4 separate regions of the Homo sapiens genome follow, and regions 1, 2 and 3 are each linked to region 4. Evidence: promoter capture Hi-C in 16 types of primary human blood cells and fetal thymus (Javierre and others, 2016). All regions are on one chromosome and are shown on one strand. Each heading gives the region's core, a stretch centred on a gene start or on the middle of the fragment in contact. The rest is flanking DNA. Distances are from core to core; before and after follow the strand shown. Region 1 overlaps CD300A (CD300a molecule). Region 2 holds the start of CD300LB (CD300 molecule like family member b). Region 3 has its middle 27 kb from the start of CD300A. Region 4 holds the start of RPL38 (ribosomal protein L38).

Region 1 (2,700 bases), core at 1-2,500, 270 kb before region 4:
GATCTGCAATCTAGAGGACTGGTGGCCACACCTCCACTTGTTCCTCTGTTCCTGTGCTTATTCAATTTGCCTATCAGCTATTTATTGAGCATCTACTTACTGAGTGCCAAGAGTTCCTGTTCTCTCTTTTAATCTGAGCTCAGAGGAGGGCAGCTGGACTAGAGATTGCCTGGAGGCCCCTGGGGTGCCCGTTGCAGCTGGAGATACTGAATAACACATTAATTTGACAAATATTGGTTCTGTACCTCCTTGAAGCACATGCCTGTGGGAAGGCAGATGAGGACACCAGCAATGACAGTCTGGTTCCCAAAAGGCTGTGACAGCAGAGGTATAGCCAGGAGGGGCCCCAAGCCACTCTTTGGAGTCAAAGAAAAGGTCCCAGAGAAAAGAAAGTCTGAGGACCACTGTTGGAGTCCACTGGGAGTGAGCTGGGGAGAGGGGGCAGGGGAGGCCCTCCAGCCCAGAGCAAACCCAGAAGGAGAGGAGAGGCTGAGGTTGAGGCTGTCATTAAAGGAGATACAAGAAGTTGGTTTCCAGGGTGCGCGGATGGGGAGAGGGAGGTGGGTAGAGCCAGATCGTGGAGGGCAGTGACTCCTGTAGATACCTGGACTTTTTATGGTGGGGGAGACCATGCAAGGGTTTATTTTATCTTATAGACACGGGAGCCTTGTTGTGTTGCGCAGGCTGGTCTTGAATTCCTGGGATCAAGCAATCCTCCCATCTCAGCCTCCTGAGTAGCTGGAACTACAGATGCACACCACTGCACCCAGCACACCATGCCAGGGTTTTAAACAGAAGAGGGTCATTGCTTCATGGGGCAACCACCCTTGGCCTGGAAGTGGGAAAGCCTCCTGCTTGGGAGCCACCTCTCACAGCCTGTAACCACCACGCACAAGGATGCCTCCCATGGGACCTGCCCTGTAGGATCACCTAGGATGTGTGGTCTGGGTGTCACATGTCATAGCAATACTGTGGGACGTGGACATAGCTTTGAAGATGAGCGTCTGTGGTCAGGGTCTGACCACCCCAGGTGGGGCAGAGGGGTGTGGGGAGCCAACTCACCTTTGATCCATTTCTGAAACATCCTCCAGGCTAGCAGGGAGGCCCCCACCAACAGAAGCAGCAACAATGCCAGCAGGGAGAGGAGCAGCGGGAGCCTGGAGGAGGCACAGGATGGTAAGGGCGGGGCCAACTTGCCTTCTCCAACTTACTTTTTTATTTTTATTTTTTATTTTTATTTTTTGAGACAGGATCTGGCTCTGTTACCCAGGCTGGAGTGCAGTGGTGATCATGGCTCACTGCAGCCTTGAACCCCTGGGCTCAAGTGATCCTCCTGCCTCAGCCTCCAGCTACAGGCACAGGCCACCACGGCTAATTTTTAAATTTTTCGTAGAGACTCAATCTTGCTATATTGCCCAGGATGGTCTCAGACTCCTGAGCTCAAGCCACCCTCCTGCCTCAGCCTCCCAAAATGCTGGGATGACAGGCATGAGCCAATATACCTGGTCTCCTTCTCTAACTTTTTAAGTAGATAGATAAGGTCAATTAAAAAAAATAGACAGTATAAAGCCCCCTTTCTACACACCCCCCATTTACACATTCCCCAATTTCCCCACATACACACACGTGCTGTTCTTAAGAACCTTCCAGAGTTTCTTTATGTGTATACAAGCAAATACGAATGTACGGGATCTCCTTTCTCTTTCACACAAAGGAGGCCTCGTCTAACACTATTCTGGTTTTACTTAGCAATACATCTTAGAGGTCTTTCCACGTCAGTACATAAAGAAGTCCCTCACTCTTTCCTATAGCTGCAGGGTATTCCAACACATGGATAGACTGTGATTTATTTAAATGTTCCCACTGAATGGGCATTTCCCCAGTCCTTTGCAATGGTAAACGTTGCTTATAAATCGCCTTGCAGCTCCACCTTTTCACACCTGACCACGCAGCAGCAGATTGACCAGGAGGCTGATGCAGCCCAGCTTCAGGTCCCTCCATTGCTTGGGCCCTTTCCTTCATGCCTACGTTTGCATTCATAATTTTCTCATCTTTTTCTTAGATTACCCACCCACCAACCCACCCCGCAAACTGCACAACCTTCAGGCCCCACAGAACTCAGCGCTGCCACCTATGTGTATCTACAGGCTAAACTTCTGGAAGTGGCATGTTCAAGCCTGAATTTTGCCTTGTCTTATATGTTGGCAGAAGCCTGTGGAGGGGTTTATGGATGTTGTCCAGTAAAGAATCTGGCTGGCCTTTGTCCCTAGCTCTTAGGAGGGAGGCTCTAAATCCTTGGAATGTCCCAAAAATTAGGAGTGTCTTTGTTGTTCATGAATCACACCTGGACTTTGGTAAGAGATGAGACAATAGGATGGGGCTGGTCACCAGAAAGACCAACTACGTAATTAGAGATTTGGAGCCCTGAGCCAGCCCAACCTCCCAAAGAGGGACTGGAGGTGGAGACAGTTCAATCACATCATGCCTATGTAATGAAACCCCAATAAAAACTCTGGACACCAAAGCTTGGAGGAGCTTCCTGGTTGATAAATATATTGAGGTGCCGCAGGGAGGGTGCAGGTGATGCTCCCTGATTCCACCTGGAGAGGGCACAGAAACTGTTTGGGAATCCTCCCAAGCCTTGTCCTATGTGTCTCTGCATTGGCTGGTCCTAATCTTTATCCTTTATCCTTATGATAA
Region 2 (2,700 bases), core at 106-2,605, 330 kb before region 4:
ACCCAGGGGTGTTGGGGGGTTCTCCGTGTTCTCAGCAGCAAGCCTCACATTCGAGTCTTCAGTATGGCAGCCAACACTAAGTGTATGTACCCGGCTGACGGATGCCCATTGACTTATTTTATTTTAAAATAGAGGCTAAGAGTGCCTCGGAATGATAGAAGAGATTTTAAGCTCACTCCCATACTTACCACTCCGATGAGTGTCGTACCTTGGATTCCCGGCCAATGCAACAAAATGGTATGGCTCTGATGACTGGAGGAACACTAGGGTCCTTGGTCTCCCACTGGTTTGAATAAAACAACATGGGCACACGTGGAGTGGTTTTAAGGAGTGGAGAATTTAATAGACAAGAAAGAAGGAAGGAAGAGGCTCCCCCTGTTCTGAGACTGAGGGAGGCGGGCTCCAAGCTGAAAGAGGGAACCTCGAGTACGGTGGAAAACAGCCAGTTATATGAGGAGGCTGGAGGAGGCGGTACCTGATTTGCATAGGGCCCAGGGGATTGGTTTGACCAGGTATGTCATTCAAGTAGCCCACGAAAAAACTAGCCTTCCTACCCTAGCCTTTTAATATGCAAATACAGGCGCCATGATGTTCTACACACATGGGTGTATGTAGGGGCGGCCATGTTGCCAGGAACGTGGGGAAAAGAAGAAGAGGCGGGAGTCTCCATGTTTGGGTGGACGCAGTTTCTAATGGCCTGTATTTGCATATCAAAGCTTGCCTGCCCAGCTCTAAGAGCCAGGGCTTTTCTTCTAGACAAGAAACATTTATGGAGCTGCTTTAAAAGAAAAAAAAATCTTCCCAAGCACCCCTTTTCCTATCTACCTAAAATAATTTCTTAATAACTCCTATAACAACAACAAACATTATGAGCCCAGTTAATAGATACAATAACTGAGGCACAGAGATGTTGATTGCATTGTCCACAGTCACGCAGCTTGTAGGTGGTGCTCGTGGGGTTAGAGCCAGGTCTGTCTGACCCAACAGTCTGCATGTTTATGCACTTGGCTATAACACCTGAACAAATGCATGTTCAGGTGTGCCCAGCATGACCCATCCGACATCTGAGTTGGGTGTTCACTGTGGTATAGAACAGCTCTGAAATTGACTCCCAGAGTGTTATACCCCTTGGACCCAAGGCCTGCTAGGCCAGACGCCCCCCACCCCACCCCTTCTGCAGACGTATCTCCCCCTACCCTAAAGACCCTGCACAGTCCCCTCCCTCCTCTTTTTTACATAGTGACGATGCTTAAGCCCTGTGGCGCAGCCCTGCCAAAAAATGACACCTCTTTCGTTTAATAATTAAAAGCAGGAACTACCCACTCTATAAAAGGAAGTGAATGAGTAAGAAAGTCAAAGGCGGTCTAGATGTGCAGAAGGTGCAAGCCAGAGCTCAGGCAGAACTTCCAGAGTGCATCTGGGATCTGCATTTGCCACTGGTTGCAGATCAGGCGGACGAGGAGCCGGGAAGGCAGAGCCATGTGGCTGCCCCCTGCTCTGCTCCTTCTCAGCCTCTCAGGTGAGTGGGGCTGGGGCCTTGGGCGCTTGGTATGACAGGGGCAGGGCAGGAGGCAGAGGGCATTTGTCCTTCCACATCCAGGGAAATGAGAGGTGGCTTTGTGAAGTCATTCGACAAAGGTGCACTGGGGACTGACATCGTGTGCTTCGGGGCCTGAGGACATCAAGAAAAAAGAGGAGGAGAACTGGCCATTAAAGAAGACTCCAGGCTTGAGGCCATGGCTCACACCTATAATCCTAACACTTTGGGAGGCCAAGGTGGGAGGATTGCTTGAGTCCAGGCGTTTAAGACCAGTTTGGGCAACATGGTGAGACCTCGTCTCTATATAAAATGAACAAAAATTAGCTGGGCGTGGTGACCGTGCCTGTAGTCCCAGCTACTTGGGAGGCTGAAGCTGGAGGATCCTTTGAGCTCAGGTATTCAATTCTGCAGAGTTATGATCGCACCACAGCACTCCAGCCTGGGTGATACAGTGGGACCTTGTCTCAAAAAAAAAATAAAGTAAAAAGACTCCAGATGGCTTAGTGGGTGAGACATACACATAAACAATGAGCAATTGCAGGACACAATAAGGCATTGGTGGAGGCGTGTGCGGAGGATGAAGCAGTTCTCTCTGGTGACTAGAGAAAGACTCACGAAGCTGTGCACTTGATGTGCCTTGTAGAAGGAAGGTCAGTCTCTGGAGCAGAGCTGAGAGGAGAACACTCTAGAGAGTTGGGTGTGTGTGTGTGTGTGTGTGTGTGTGTGTGTGTGTGTGTGTTGGGGGACCTGGGCAGAGAGATGGAGGCTTAGAAAGAATGGTGGATTCATGCAGAGGGAGCTGTCAGTGTGCAGGATGTCTTGGAGGTGGCGAGTTGGATATGAGGTTGGAAACACAAAAGACAAGATTATGAAGGCCATCCACGCCAGGCTCAGGAGCTGAGACTTTCAAAGAAAAAACTTCTCAAGAACCCAGGTGGAAAGTGGGAAGGGCTAGATGATCTTCTCCATGGCAAACCTTGGTGGACACCTAGAGGGCATTAGGGGACAATCTAGAATTTTACGCAGGGTGTGCAATGTGTGTGGGCCACACAGTTTTCTGCTGGTGCCTAGGGACTGACCATCTGGCACAGATAGAGCAGTCCACGGAGGGACAACAGGAAAGAGCATGGCTGGGGAGTTCTGAGACCCGACTCCAGTCC
Region 3 (2,700 bases), core at 143-2,642, 290 kb before region 4:
CCTTACCAGACACATAGGAACCCAGAGCTTGCCCTCAGCCTGGGCTTCAGGAGTAGGTCCCGGGCTCCAATGCACCATGTGGCCAGATTTGCAGAATGTAGGTCAAAGGGGAGAGTCCAAAGGTCAAATTCAAAGGACCCGAGAACAGGAGCAAAGGAAAGAATCGACAGCAAAGAAATTTTGGACAATGAGGATGCAGGTCAGGGGTGCTTAGAAAGAGTCCCAGAGGTGACGAAACAGCATGAGGATGCCCAGGGAGAGAATGGCAGGGCCTTTTGTTAAGGGCTTGCATCAGCTGGGTGTAGTGGGTCACACTGCGGTCCCAGCCAGTCAGGAGGCTGAGGAGGGAGATTTGCTTGAGACCAGGAGGTTAAGCCCAACTGGGACCACATGGTGAGACCCTGTCTGTATAAATAAATAAGAGTGGCCAGGTGCGGTGGCTTACATCTGTAATCCCAGCACTTTGGGAGGCCCAGGTGAGTGAATCACCTGAGGTCAGGGGATTGAGACCAGCCTGGGCAACATGGCGAAACCCCATCTTTACTAAAATACAAAAATTAGCCAGGTGTGGTGGCAGGTGCCTGTAATCCCAGCTACTTGGGAGGCTGAGGCAGGAGAATCATTTGAACCCGGGAGGCAGAGGTTGCAGTGAGCCTAGATCGCACCACTGCACTCCAACCTCAGTGACTGAGACTCCCTCTCAAAATAGAAATAAATAAATAAGAGCTTGCTTCAGAGCCTGGTGAGGGTGAACGCACTGGAGGGGCACTGGACCATTGCTGGAACAAATGAAGAAACTGAGACCCAGATGGCCTTGAATGGCAGCCCCAGACCATGTAGGTCACAAGGGCAGAGGTGGGATTTAAGGCCTGTTCTATCTGACCCCAAACCCATGACACCAACCACAGGTGGGGTGGCTGCCCTTGCCTTTGACACACTGCAGTCGGGGTGGGAAAATCTAGGAATTGGGAAGGGACAATTGGATATGAAATAAAGAAACTCAAAGTTAGAGAGGAGTTGAGTTTTCTTGTTTTGTTTGTTTGTTTGTTTTTTGAGACAGAGTCTTGCTCTGTCACCTAGGCTGGGGTGCAATGGCGCGATCTTGGCTCACTGCAACCTCCGCCTCCCAGGTTCAAGCGATTCTCCTGCCTCAGCCTCCCAAGTAGCTGGGATTACAGGTGTCCGCCACCACACCCGGCTAATTTTTGTATTTTTAGTAGAGACGGGGTTTCGCCATGTTGGCCAGGCTGCTCTTGAACTCCTGACCTCAAGTGATCCGCCTGCCTTGGCCTCCCAAAATGCTGGGATAACAGACGTGAGCCACCGTGCCCGGCCAAGGAGTTGAGTTTTCTTTCGGCACAAAACATCCAAGGACTGGGCGTGCAGAGGGGCTGGAAAGCCATGCAGGAGTTTTCTGTCTGTTCCCCTGTTTCAAGCCCTCCCGCTTCTCAGCTGCATTGACCCAGAAAGTACAGAATTCCTTTGGCGTTGACAGACCAACCCCAACGAATTCAACAGGCTTGGGAATCCAGGCATGTGTGATTCCCCGCATGGCCACAGGGTGGAGATACGTGGCTATCAAATCTCTATGTTTGGTTCCCAGGCAGAGTCAGGTCTACAAACCAGGGCTGGTGTTTGCCCAAACAGTAAACTTTAAAAACAAAGAAACATAATTGTGAGGTCATTTTCTAAACTGTGGATAATTCAGCCCTGAGTCATCTTTCTAAAAGGCTTGGGCTAATTAGAAAATGTCTTTCACCTCCTTGGACCAATTGTGAACATATTGATGATTAACCTAACATTATTTAATCCTCCGAATATCTATCATGTTGGCATTGGACATGCCAAGTGAGGCGCTGTATTTTGAAGGTGAACTTGGATTGTAAAACAAAGACAAGGCACAACTACGGGAAGGCTTCACCAGCTACTTTCAGAAAACACCGGAGTGGCACCTTTGTGTACCCGGCACATGCAGACAAAGACAGTGTCAGCAACCTGTTCTCAGATGGTTCTGGGGAAAAACGCATAGATAGAAACAGAGTAACAAAAAAGTGGCAAATTAAAAAAAAAAAAGGGTAAATCTGGGAAAATGACATACGGGAGGTCTTTGTACCTTTTCCACAATTTTTCCTTAAGTTTGAAATTGTTTCAAAATACAAGGTTTTTTTTTTCATTGTTGTTGTTTTTAATGCTAAGATCCAGAATTCCTAGATTCAAGGTTCAGATATTATCACCCAATGGAGTGGCATTTGTCATTTCAAGTAGCCTCTCTGGCCCGTGGCTCTTCTGTAAAATAAAGAAGGTGGCCAGGCATGGTGGCTCATGCCTATAATCCCAGCACTTTGGGAGATCGAGGCAAGAGGATCACTTGAGGCCAGAAGTTCGAGACCAGCCTGGCCAACATGGCGAAACCCTGTCTCTACTAAAAGTACAAAAAAATTAGCCGGGCATGGTGGCATGTACCTGTAATCCCAGTTACTGGAGAGGCTGAGGCAGAAGAATCACTTGAACCTGGGAAGCAGAGATTGTAGTGAGCCAAGATTGCACCACTGGACTCCAGCCTGGGTGACAGAGCAAGACCCTGTCTCAAATAAAATAAAATGAAATAAAATAAAAAAAGGCAATCTGTTGTCACTGCTGCAAAGCATTCTGTTGTGTGAATAAACCCCTCAGCTCACCCATTCCCTGAAAAAAACAAAA
Region 4 (2,700 bases), core at 53-2,552:
GGCACAGTGGCTCACACCTGTAATCCCAGCACTCTGGGAGGCGGAGGCAGGTGGATCATCTGAGGTTAGGAGTTCGAGACCAGCCTGGCCAACATGGTGAAACTCTGTCTCTACCAAAAACACAAAAATCAGCTAGGCATGGTGGCGCGCCCAGCTACTTTGAGGCAGGGGGATCGCTTGAACCTGGGAGGCGGTAATTGCAGTGAGCCAAGATCGCACCACTGCAATCCAGCCTGGGCGACAGAGCCAGACTGTCTCAAAGAAAAAAAAAAATTTTTTTAAATATTTTTCTGGATTAGATAGGTATGATACCTTCTGACACTGGCCAGCGACCACAGGATCACGAGGTAAACGACCATACTACACAGTGTGCCGTGCTCGATACATTACATGCAAATATCCAGCACTTTATTACAAAATGGATTTTGTGTTAAGATTTTGCACAACTGCAGAGAACCTAAACAGTGTTTATGGGACGTGTGTTTTGAGGCTTTCGCGGAGTGGAGATTCCGTTCCGACAATTTACTATATTATACGAAAGAAAACTGAACTCAGGGCGGCCTCTGAGATGATCGCGATTAGCTAAAGATGGTCCTAGAAATTCCAGGGCCTCAACGTGCCCCCCACAGGTCTTTCTCATGGGAAACAGGATGAAACCACTGCTCCCAGAGGGCCAGGCACACACCCAGACGGCCTAACCGTCTCCTGCCTGACATTCCGGGGAAGACGCTCCCGGAGCGGTGCCAGGCTAGGCACCGCTCTTCTTGAACCTTCGGAGCAACCACTTACATTTGGCATCCTTTCGTCGGGCTGTGAGCAGGAAGTCCTTGATTTCCTCAATTTTCCGAGGCTGCAACACAAAGGAAGCGGGTGAACAGAGAGGAAAGAGACACGTCTCCCGGCGATGGCCCAGTCCACCAGCTTCTCCCGGCCTCAGGAGATCCTTGGGAGGCTCTCTCGCCCTCGCCCCGGGGCCCCACGAGCCCACCCCGGGAAGGCGCCAGGCAGGGACTGTACTCACCATGGCGACGAGGCGCGCTGGGCTCTGGCGCGGACCAGGACCTGCGGGAAACAGTCCTCGGCGTTAACACGGCGCGGGGGCTGGCAGCGAACCCCGTTTTCCCGCTCTCCCCCGAAATATCGGCCCCATCGCACTCCCCTTCTCCTCCCCGACACCCTCCACGCGGACCTGGGGTCCCCAGATTTCACCTGGCAGTGGATTGCCCCAGATTACCTTTCTCACCCACGTATCACCCTAGAGACACTCACAGCAAGCAGCAACCGGGGAAAAGGACGAAAAAGAACGAGACTTCCGTTTCCGGGCAGTTAAACCCTCCCAACGGAGGAAACTGGGTACGGTGCCTGCCGAGGATCAAGACTCATGTAGGCGTTCGCACTTCCAATTTCAGCAGCCCTGCCCCCTTGTGGTCGAAGTCAACAGTGCAGCTCCAAGAATGGAATGGACCATCCTGGCTGCCGCCCTCCCTCCGCCTCCCTCCTCTCGCTCCTCCCCATCCCTTCCTCCTAGGACCCCCGCCTCTTCCCCGTCCACCCCTTCCTGTCTTCCCCCGCAACCCCTCAGACCCCAGCCTGGCTTTGCTAGGTTTTAGCTCAGATTCAGTTTGAAGAGCTAACGCTTATTCTCCACGGCTTTCATTGGACCTGCGCAGGGGCATCCACACAGAAAATTCTTCATTCAATGGCAGGGACCCTCGTGTGCACCTTGTAGAACCTGTTGTTCTGGCGCCTCACGTTTTCTTCCCGTCTCCTTTTTGGCACCTGAACCTGTCATGACCAGGGCCCTGGGCTCTTCTTTCCATAAGAGGGAGCGTTCCTGCTTGCTGCTTCCAATTCCCTTAGGAATTGGTGTACAATGAAAGCAAGTTAAGGCCGGGCGCGGTGGCTCACGCTTATAACCCCAGCACTGGGGGAGGCCGAGGCAGGCGGATCGCTTGAGGCCAGGAGTTCGAGAGCAGCCTGGGCAACCTAGTAAGACCTCCCCCCCCCCATCTCTAGCAATAATGATAATAATAATAATACTTCCAAAAGCTGTCGCAGCGCTGCCCCTGGCTAAGTGTCTCACCCCTAGGGCTGATGGTGAGTGGGAGTGCTCCTGCTCTTGCGGGGTCTCACCGCGGCCCCAGAGGGGAGAGGTGGACTCAGGAGTTGAACCCCTGCTGGGCAGATTCCCCAGCCCAGGCTCCGGCCACTTCCTGGGGAGGCTTGGGAAGCCTGGGGAGGGCAGCGTTCCTTTCTCCCCCTAACATCCTTTAGGTTAGACTCTGAGCAACCTGCGGTTATCGATTTTATTTTTATCCTCCATTTTTATTTTATCTCCAACCTCCCTACAAATGTCTACATTTTATTATATTTGTTTCCCCAAAATTTAATAACCACACGGCAGAATGTAATTGCTTCGTGCTTATTATTACAGAGCGGCCCTCCTGAAGGGAAAGAACACTTTGCCATGAGCTTTACTTAGAACTTATTTAACTTAACCTTCCTTTCTTCCTCCCTCCTGCCCTTCCATTAACAAGCTCAGGCTGAGCACCTTCCTGGGGGTGCTGGAGATACAGGAACCAATAGACCTTGCTGCAGAGAGATCACAAAAATATTGTAATAACACTGAAGAGTCTTTTAAAGAAGCTGAACGATGTCTCTGCAACTGTAAATGTGTCGGGGTTCTAGCAGTGGGAAAAG

What was found. Contacts are between HindIII fragments. The CHiCAGO score rates a contact against its expected background, and 5 or more counts as called.
Region 1: a contact is called between a fragment that was not itself captured here and the fragment with the promoter of RPL38 in region 4, in 1 of 17 cell types (total CD4 T cells). The highest score is 5.5, in total CD4 T cells.
Region 2: a contact is called between the fragment with the promoter of CD300LB here and the fragment with the promoter of RPL38 in region 4, in 4 of 17 cell types (naive B cells, megakaryocytes, total B cells and 1 more). The highest score is 8.4, in naive B cells.
Region 3: a contact is called between a fragment that was not itself captured here and the fragment with the promoter of RPL38 in region 4, in 3 of 17 cell types (total CD4 T cells, total CD8 T cells and naive CD4 T cells). The highest score is 7.9, in total CD4 T cells.

What each region holds. Positions count from the first base shown.
Region 1 is chr17:74,475,893-74,478,592 of GRCh38, reverse strand. CD300A (CD300a molecule) reads right to left here. Exons shown (of 7, transcript NM_007261.4): 4 at 1,063-1,157. Among named protein-coding and RNA genes, the nearest start is that of CD300A, 11 kb to the right of the region's middle. The HindIII fragment of the contact is 2,554 bases long and covers 1-2,527 here.
Region 2 is chr17:74,530,130-74,532,829 of GRCh38, reverse strand. It overlaps CD300LB (CD300 molecule like family member b), which reads left to right and starts at 1,355. Exons shown (of 4, transcript NM_174892.4): 1 at 1,355-1,519. The coding sequence starts at 1,480. LOC107985074 (a long non-coding RNA gene) reads right to left here. Exons shown (of 3, transcript XR_007065902.1): 2 at 189-283. The HindIII fragment of the contact is 3,995 bases long and covers 719-2,700 here.
Region 3 is chr17:74,492,389-74,495,088 of GRCh38, reverse strand. No RefSeq gene overlaps it. Among named protein-coding and RNA genes, the nearest start is that of CD300A, 27 kb to the right of the region's middle. The HindIII fragment of the contact is 6,311 bases long and covers 1-2,700 here.
Region 4 is chr17:74,202,280-74,204,979 of GRCh38, reverse strand. It overlaps RPL38 (ribosomal protein L38), which reads right to left and starts at 1,302. Exons shown (of 5, transcript NM_000999.4): 1 at 1,235-1,302; 2 at 1,022-1,062; 3 at 790-850. The coding sequence starts at 1,024. RefSeq lists enhancers at 1-49, 50-554, 1,563-2,066. The HindIII fragment of the contact is 15,941 bases long and covers 1-2,700 here.